Linked DNA regions of Homo sapiens: regions 2 and 3 are each linked to region 1. Evidence: promoter capture Hi-C in human tissues and cell types (Jung and others, 2019). All regions are on one chromosome and are shown on one strand. Each heading gives the region's core, a stretch centred on a gene start or on the middle of the fragment in contact. The rest is flanking DNA. Distances are from core to core; before and after follow the strand shown. Region 1 holds the start of CELF4 (CUGBP Elav-like family member 4). Region 2 overlaps CELF4 (CUGBP Elav-like family member 4). Region 3 has its middle 42 kb from the start of CELF4.

The links. The method cuts DNA at HindIII sites, captures the fragments that hold promoters and counts their contacts. A contact is called where the count stands out against the background at its distance.
Region 2: a fragment that was not itself captured here is called in contact with the fragment with the promoter of CELF4 in region 1 in 2 of the 25 tissues and cell types used here (IMR-90 fibroblasts and pancreas).
Region 3: a fragment that was not itself captured here is called in contact with the fragment with the promoter of CELF4 in region 1 in 3 of the 25 tissues and cell types used here (neural progenitor cells, spleen and thymus).

What each region holds. Positions count from the first base shown.
Region 1 is chr18:37,564,383-37,567,331 of GRCh38, forward strand. CELF4 (CUGBP Elav-like family member 4) reads right to left here and starts at 1,416. Exons shown (of 13, transcript NM_020180.4): 1 at 974-1,416. The coding sequence starts at 1,259. It overlaps LOC124904288 (a long non-coding RNA gene), which reads left to right and starts at 1,895. Exons shown (of 2, transcript XR_007066345.1): 1 at 1,895-2,007; 2 at 2,197-2,306. RefSeq lists an enhancer at 960-1,463. The HindIII fragment of the contact is 29,207 bases long and covers 1-2,949 here.
Region 2 is chr18:37,513,426-37,516,374 of GRCh38, forward strand. The region is part of intron 1 of CELF4 (CUGBP Elav-like family member 4); the gene reads right to left. Among named protein-coding and RNA genes, the nearest start is that of SNORA111, 48 kb to the left of the region's middle. The HindIII fragment of the contact is 4,893 bases long and covers 1-2,949 here.
Region 3 is chr18:37,606,412-37,609,360 of GRCh38, forward strand. No RefSeq gene overlaps it. Among named protein-coding and RNA genes, the nearest start is that of CELF4, 42 kb to the left of the region's middle. The HindIII fragment of the contact is 5,513 bases long and covers 1-2,949 here.

The DNA.
Region 1 (2,949 bases), core at 166-2,665:
AAAACAAGGAGAAAACAGGCAGGCTGCGGACAATTCCCATGACCACTTTCCTAAAAAGTTGCTGTGTTTTAATTCTTTGATTATTCTGTCTCCCCCTCCCCCAAGCACTCACTGGCAATGATCGCTTCAAGGGAGAAATAATGTACTATAAAGCTCTCTGCATGGTGAGTTTGGGATAAATTAGGGTACACCTTTCAAAATGCAAATCTCGCACACACATATTTTTTTCCCAAAGCCCCGCTTTCCTGGGAAGGGGACTATCCAGGCTTGCCAGACCCCCCACTCCACCCAGGGGATGGCTGGTTCCTTGCTAATTCTTGCCTTAGGTTTTATCACTGGTTCCTTCAAACATCCAACCCCCCCACCCCCAACACACACCACCATTCACACCACAATCAGATTATTGAGGCACACAGCTCGACAGGGAGAGTTTACTGTTACATTTAAATAAAAATTTCTCTTTGAATTTGTCACCTCTCTCCCTTTTAGACGGCTGCGCTCCTGCTACTCTAGCCCGGAGCAAAGGATGAGGAGACCACCTCCTTTAGTATTTTCAGCACCACGGCGATGGACAGCACCCTCGGTCCTCGGCCGGCCAGGAGCCCGCGAGTCCGTCCGCTCAGCGTCCTGGGCTCGACCGGTGCAGCCTTCCCCATCCCCATCTTTCAGGTCGCTGTACCCAAAAATCCAAGCCCCGTCTCCTCGATCCCCTCTCTCTTTCTCTTCATCGGCGCCCGCTGCTCTCTCCATGGCATCGTTCCTATCAGCACCTCGCCCAAAACCCAGTCTTGCCCCAGCGAACAGCTCCCCACGCACCCCAGCTCTGGTCTCCGCTGCCCGAGCGCCTCCCTCCACCGCGCCCGCCCGAGGCTTCCTCTCGCTTAGTCCGCCGCTCGTCAGTCGCCGGCCGGCCGGTCGGCCCGCCAGCCCGCTCCTGCTCCCCGGCAAAGTTGGGAGGGAAAGGTGTACTCACCTTTGTGCATGCCTGTGAACCTGTCCTTCAGAACCGTAAGCTCGTAGATTTTGCCAAACTCCTCGAAGAGGGGCTTGAGGTCCTTCTCATCCAGGTTGCGGGGGATCTGCCCAATGAACAGCTTGATGGCATCGTGGTCCTTCATGGGAATGGTCGACGGGTTCCCCGGGCTGTGGCTTAATCCGTTCATGTGCCCGGCACTGCCCGGGCTGCTGCCGAGCCCGTTGGTACTGAGGCTTGCGTTGTCAGCCTGTCCGTTTGCTAACGTGGCCATCTTTATATACATAGAGAAAATCTTCTTTCCTTTTATTCTTTCTCGCTCACACTCTCTCGCTCCTCTCTCTCGCTCGCTCGCGCTCACACACGCACACGCATACACACACTCGGGTTCTCTCCCCCTCGGTTTCTCTACACCTCGCTCTCCGCTCGCTCTCTGCTCTCTCTCTTTCTCCTCTTCTCTCGCTCGCTCGCGCTCGCGCTCTCTCTCTGCTCTCCCCCCTCTCTCTCTCCCTCCCTCCCTCTCCTCTCTCTCTCCCTCTCTCTCTCCCTCTCTCTCTCCCTCTCTCCTCTCTCTCTCGGTCTGATCTGATTTTTTTTTTCTTTTTTTCTTTTTTTTTTTTTTTTTTTTTTTTTTACATTGAACAGACAGGATCTCTGTCCTTTCCGTTTAAACAGGCTGGACCGGTTCAAGTTCCCAGCCAGACCAGGGGTGGGGGTGGCGAGTGTGCGCGCGCGGAGGAGGGCGCGGGGGGCCGGGAATGGGCGCGCTGTGGGGGCCCGCGCCACGGCGGGCGGCGGCCGGGGGCAGGGCGGCGTGGGGCGGCGGCCACCGCGCCTCCCCCGTCGGCGGCCCCGCGCCGTGGCGATGGTACAGTCCGAGACGGCCCCCGGCTATAAATAGCGCCAGGCGCATGGCTCTTCGGGAGGCGCTGAGATTCCGGGCCCGGCGGCCGCGGGGAGCGGGTGTCCGTGAGGAGCCGGGCAGCCGGCCTCCTCTCTTTGCCTTTTGGGGGTTCTTTTTGTAATAGCAGCAGGTGCAACTTTTTGTATTTTAAAAATAGTGATTTTTATTTTCGTGTGGGTATGTAGGGGGGCTTTATCCACCAAGCTATGCTCTATTAGGGCGCCAGGCGGGCGAAGCAAAGGCAGGGATGGCGGGCGGGGCGGCGGCGGAGGTGGAATGGGCGCTTTTTTCTTCCATCTGGCTTTATTTATTTATTTAGACTAGAAAAGCGAGCCGGCTTGGAGGGAGTCCGCCCGGGGATCCGAGCGCGCATTCATCAGTGTCGAGAGAAAAAAAGCTACATAAATATATATTATGTGGATAAATCTATAGACAAGAGCTCTCTCGCGCGCGCTCTCTCCCTGTCTCTCTGTGTGTGTCTTTCTCTGTTTTTTTTTCCTCCTCGCACCCCCAACCTGCCAGAGCAGCCCCACATCTTCCTCCCGCCCGGCATCTACCGCCACCCAAGCCACCTGCCAGGATGGGGCTGGGAGCTGTCGGGCCGCGCCGGGGGGCAGAGGGACGGGGAGTAGAGACTCGGGGTCCGACCCCCGCCCCAACCCGCTTCCGAAGGCGGAAGGTGGGGGTCCCCGTCCCGGGCGGCCTCCCCCGCCCCGGAGAGCGCGGCTGGTCCCCCGGTGGCTGGCGGGAGGAAGGTAGGAGTCGGGCGCCCCTGCCCGCTCGCCCGCCGGAGGGGGAGGAAGGCGCTGGGCGCGGTGGCCGGTGAGCCAGCGCGGGGGATGGCTTGATTTGCCCTCGTCTGCTTTACGGGTTCAAATAGAATATATTTTTTTAATCACCATCAAAAGAATAAAGCCCCTGAATCGCTATCTGGGTTGCCGCCGGACCGAGACTCGCGCGGCGTGCGCTGCCCCCGCGGGTTTCGTTTTCGGCACCTACAGCTCCCGAGGTGCGAGGCTGAGTCGTTCCTGCCGTGGGGACCGGGGGTCGAGCCGCCCGGTCCGGACCCCGC
Region 2 (2,949 bases), core at 254-2,753, 51 kb before region 1:
GGTGTTCAGCAAATGTGTGTCCATGGATTGGCAGCAATATGGGTTTCCTCTGGTCTGAGCTTTACTTTCCAAAGAGAAAGGCATGGAGAGCTACTGGGCAGGGGCGTGGACCATTCTTATGGAATGGATTTGATGTCTCCATTCTTTCACTCACTCCAGGGCCTCTTTAGTCTGCACCAACCTTCTCTTTCCAGCTCTACCTACTAAGCTTCTGTCAAGAACATCTTCTTACTGTTCCTGAGACACACCTGCTCATTCCTACCAGATTGTCCATGCTCATCCTGGTTCCAGCTCCTGGAATACCCTCCCTAGCACTTTCTGCTTATCTTTATCCAACCTGTACTTTCAGGCCAATCCGCAGTGCTCCCTCCTCTATGGAGCCTCCCTGAAGGGTTCATGAACTTCTGCATGCCTTGTCTTGCTCCAGCAGTTACAGTCCTAACTACCTCTCTTGTGTTGTCCTCTGATGGGTCCATGAGGCCCTAATTTTGTCCCTCTTCCCTTCTGTGTGGTGCCGTGTGTGTGTGTGTGTGTGTGTGTGTGTGTGTGTGTGTGTGTATACCTTCTGACAGAGGTGTGGGATGGTGACTTCTGAGGTGATGGCTCTACCAAGTCCAGCAAACGCAGATGCTCAGGGCAAGTCCCTAGAAATGTGGAGACACAGATCTCTCTGGTCTACTGGTCAGCAGAGCACTGGGTCCCTGGTACCTCTTTCTGCATTTCCTGTACCCTGACCCATCTCAAACAACTAGAGGCTCTGATCCTCTCTGGCCCTGGTGTTCAAGGTAATCTGCTCCACTTCTCCCATCATCTGAGGGGTCCTTGACTAACAGCTGAAAGTACGGCCCTCTTCCCCTCTCTCTCCTAGGACGAGGGCATTACAATGGGAACCAAAGCTTCCTGCAAAAGGAACACTGTTTTCTGGCCCAGGGCTTTCATGGAAATCATGGGTTAGGACTTCTTCATAGTATGGCACATCACCAGCAAACACTTATTGAACACTTATTGCATGCATGGCTCTGTGCTGGATGCTGATGAGAAGGAAAAGAGTTTCTTCCGAGAGCCTGGTATCTGACCTCAGGGAGCTCAGAGCCCCCTTGAAGAGCAAAGCAGACACATGAACAGACAATCACACGAGGAATTGGAGGAGACTGAAACCAACCAATTGAGCTCCCGGTCCCAAGCCCAAGGAGGCCTGGGCGGTAAACAAACAACTTCAGAAAAGCAAAGGGAATTAGAATTTTAAAAACCTTCCGGTGATAATAAAATCTGGGGTATAAAATGGGTTAGGAAATTTATTTTTTCAATATATGATTTTTCCCCCTCTCCTTTGAAAATCCACATATCTATTCTGCTTCAGGTTGGGGCTCCTTTAAATGGGTTTATTAAAAAAATCATTTACTGTGGGCTTTTCAGTTCAACTTTAACTGGACCGGGTGGAAATTAAAAAAAGGATATTTTAAAAATAAATTATATAAATTACAGCCCTAATTATAAAGGAACTTTTAAAAATGTATCCAAGCATTAAAAGAAAATCTTTTTTTAAAAAAATGCCCCATTTCCCTGTTCCATTGCGGGAACATAATTTAGATACTTTTAACAAATCCTCATCCTTTGGAAGAAGCGGGCTCTCCAGGCCCATTTGCCTGTGTCTCTTTCTGAGTGCTATTATTATTTGATAACTCTGGGCTTAAATCTGCATGAGAGCCAATTATCTCTCTTTGTCATCAAGCAGGCTTGCTGTTCGGCAGTGGTTTTTATAGTACAGTAAAAGCCTTAAGGAGCCTGGAGGAGGGGGATTTGCAGTTCAGATTACACTGCATCTTGCCTCCCTAAATGCCTTTCCTTATTCCCTTTTCTGTTTTTGCTTTTCATCCCTCCCTGGTGCAACAAGTTCTCCCCTCCTGGCTGCTCTGCAGTGTTGTCTGACCCCGAGCTTCTCCCCAGCCTGGCTACCCTCTGCCAGTGCTTTCCTTGAGGATCCCATCCTATCAAGGGTCTTTCTCCCTTCTATCTTTGGCAGGCCTAGGCTTCCTGAACACAAGTGGTAGGAACTGGCATTTCTTGGCCCATCCTCCAGTAGAGGCCTAAAGCAATGGTCACACTCTGCTTTCTTAACTAGCGGAGGTTGCATCAAGACCGTAACGCTGGAGGGAGACAGGCCTCCCTACTCGTGGAGCTCACAGCTTGACTGGGACACTGAACAGACCCACCCGAGGGATGGTATCAAGGGTGGCGGTGGATCCAGTGCCTTAGCAGTGAACTGAAGGGTGCTGCCCTCCAGCTGGGGCATGGGGAGCTCTGGGGGTGTGGGCATGGTGTCCTGCTTCTTTTATTTCTCCACCAAGAAGAGCCAGTAAGTGCTGACTGGGAAGGACAGATGGAGCTTCGCAGAGGGGCTGGAGGACATTGGCCAGATCCTGAAAGGCTGGAGTGGGTGGAGGGCAAAGGCAGGAGACCAGGCTGGATGAGAGTACTTCATCCCGGTGAAAGCAGGACTTGCCTTCTTCATTGTAGCATCCCAGCATTTAGACTGGGCTGGGTGCATGGAGGCACTTGATGCACTTTGGTGGAGTGAGTGAGTGAGTGAATGAATGAATGAATGTGGATGATGAGGGTCTGGTGAAGGTGTGGAGAGGCTGTAGATGGATTCAGAGGGTTTAGGGTATTAGACCTTTTCAGTCTCAGATAGCAAACTGCTTTTTTCTGGCAAAAAATATTATTTACTGGCTTCTCATCATCCTAATCATAGAGCCCAACATCCCTTCCTGCCCCCTGGTAGACCAGGCCTCCTCCCTGCTCCCTTCTTGGCCCTGGGGTAGGCATGTGCACACACCGTTTCCTCTGCTGGGAGGCTCCTCCTCCCGTCCACCTGGACCACCCATCCCACCACTGTTAAGCATCGCTTCCTCCTGGAATTCCTTCTTGACTCCAAAATTCAAGTCAGGG
Region 3 (2,949 bases), core at 335-2,834, 42 kb after region 1:
AGCCTAGCTGTGGGTCACAGCCTTCTTTAGCCTGACCTTGGTCCCTTCCAGCCCAGCTCCTTTAGCATGTTCAGGTTAGTCTGCTCATTTTGTCACTTGTCATATATTTTCTTTTCTGTTGAGTAGGCTGTCTCACTGTGTGGGACTTAGGAACTAGACCATGAACTCCCATCTTCTCCTGCCTCTTCCAGATCATCTAGCTCTGGCCTAGGCATATAGTGACTGTTCAGTGGATAATTCTTTTTTTTTTTTTTCTTTTTGAGATGGAGTCTTACTCCATCACTCAGGCTGACATGCAGTGGCATGATCTCTGCTGACTGCAACCTCTGCCTCTTGGGTTCAAGCTATTCTCCTGCCTCAGCTTCCCAAGTAGCTGGGATTACAGGTGTGCAACACCATGCCTGGCTAATTTTTTTGTATTTTTTTTTTAGCAGAGACAGGGTTTTGCCATGTTGGCCAGGCTGGTCTCAAACTCCTGACCTCAAGTGATCCACCCACTTCAGCCTCCCAAAGTGCTGGGATTACAGGCATGAGCCACCACGCCCAGCCTTCAGTGGAGAATTCTGTATTACTCCTCACTAGGCAGAATGCTGTGGTCAGGGGAGAAATTGGGGAAGAATGCTACTGGGGACTAAGGGAGCCCCAGTCACAGGCCTCCTGTCTAAACAATGCTGTGATGCCTATTTTGAGGTTCCTCTATGGTACTTGAAGTTAGATGTCTTCTTGGACAACTCCACATACAGCGTGTCAAGAAAAGCCTCAGGGGGCATTGTTTCCTTAGGAGCAATGAGATGATGAGCTCCTTGCGATGTTATGTAACTTTGAGGGGAAAGAAAAAATAAAACAAATAGAAAGGCAGAGAAAATATAAATAAAAAAGAGTGCAAAGTTTTATTGTCAACTGCTGCTGTCACCTCCTGGAACTACAGTCGTATCTAAGAAATATGTGACATACTAATAGGAAGTAATTTACCCAAGGATGTTTTTGTGCCTTGAATTGCCTTTCCAGCCCGGCTGCGGGAACTTCGCAAGCGTATATGCATGAGAGCCGGCGCGGTGCTTCAGAAACTTCCCAATTTGTGCACAATGTGACTTTTATAAGGCCATTAAACTCATCTTGGGGAAAAGTGCTCTGGAAAACAGTGATACATGGGGTCTCAAGGAGCCTGCGAAGGCAGACAGAAATGGCAAAGTGGTGACCGATGCTCTTGGCTAAAGTGACTCTGAGGGGCTGCTGCTTCTCCAGGCTCCCACCTGTTCGTCTGGTTTATTCTCTTTTCCCTACCCTTAGCAGTGCTTGGAGTTGGAGGGGGTGACTTTCCCTGGCACTATCTTGGATCCAGAAAGCACTGTCTTTTTTAATTTTTGCTGCAATTGGGTGGGCACTCTGAGACCTGAGGTTGGAACCTGGGCACATGGGATGGTCCTGGGGTTTCACTCTCAGCCTAGAAACAACCACAGAACAGCTGTGACTCCAGGGCCCTGGGGATGAAGCTCCACTGTGGCTCTAAGGAGGCCCTCAAAGGCCACACCCATGGCTAGGAGAATCTAGGTATTTACCAGCCTGTGGACCTCAAGTCCTTGGGAGAGGAAGGGCCCAAAGAGAAGAAAGTCAGGCAGAAAGAGTATAGAGCAAGTACCAAGGAAAGAGGGAGACGGGAGAGAAGCAGGAAGGGTGGTGAAGATGGTAAGAGAGTCCAGAGTGAGAGAGAAGGAGCAAATCAGAGCCAGAGGACGGTGGAGGGACAGGGAGGAGGATGGGGAGGAAGAAGAACAGGAGAAGGATCAGGAGACAGCCTGCTTACTTTTTTTTTTTTTTTTCTCAAGTGTCTTCATATGCTTGTTCTGTAAACACAGGCAGAGCCAGGATCAGAATATAGAAACAGTGAAATTGTTGAGAGCACCAGAGACAAGAGAGCTGGCTGACAGGGCTGGTGTTGCCCACGGAGAGAGCAGGTAGCCATTTCGAGCGCCCCTGCAAGTTCTGTTGCTGCAGTAAACACCTCCCTCCTACTTTTATCACAGTGCCTGAAATCCCACTACGATCCCAAGCTCGTTCTTTAAAATACAGCTCCGCCTCAGATGGGGACTGTGCAGTCTTCAGAGGCTGAGGGAGCTGGGAGGGTGTTCTCTTTGCTGAGCAGGGCAGTGCAAGGGATGTGCACTGCTTTTGGTGTGGTTGGGGGTCTGGCTGTGATAAAAAGCCGTGATTCAGGGCTGGGTGGTGAAGGTGGCTGGGCGGGGGTGAGGGCGAGCCTCTCTTGCTTCATCATTTGACTAGGGAGCAGGGCTCTGTGTGCAAAGACACCAGGAAAGGGACCTGAGGGTGCTCACTGGTTGCAGGTGACTTCACAGGGACAGGGGAAGGGAAAGGAGTAGAGAGTCTTTAATTTGTACTCTGGCTGGTGTATCTCTCCGTGTGTCCTAGCTTGGGAAAAAAGAAATGAGCCCTTTATCAATTTTTAATAAATTGAAATGACAAATAATCCATTTAATAAATTATTAACTGAGAAAATTACTGAAAACTGAAATATCAAACAATCGTGAGCAAATGCTCGAAGCAGCGTGTTTATTAATAACGAGTCCTGCTGCAGGAGAGTGCTGATGCTGTGGGTCCTATAGCCTCTGCCCCAACCCCACCAAGGCCTGGAGTGTCGGGGACCTCAGGCTGGGCATGCGCAGGGGTACGCTTGGGTGCAAGTGTGGGGTCCAAGGCAAATGGAAGTTACTTTTGCCCTTGGTCCCTATAGCTGGCCGGTTCACAGACAGCTCTTGGGTAGGGAATACGGACCTGGCACTTTGATGGTCACCAGGATGAAGTCCCCACATTCCTCCCTGATGGTACCGGAAGGGGGCTAGAAGTAATCCTACCCCTGGGGGGTTAGTTCTTTAAATTAAGAGCTGTATCCTCAGGATAAATTATATATATATATGTGTTTATGAAGTCTTG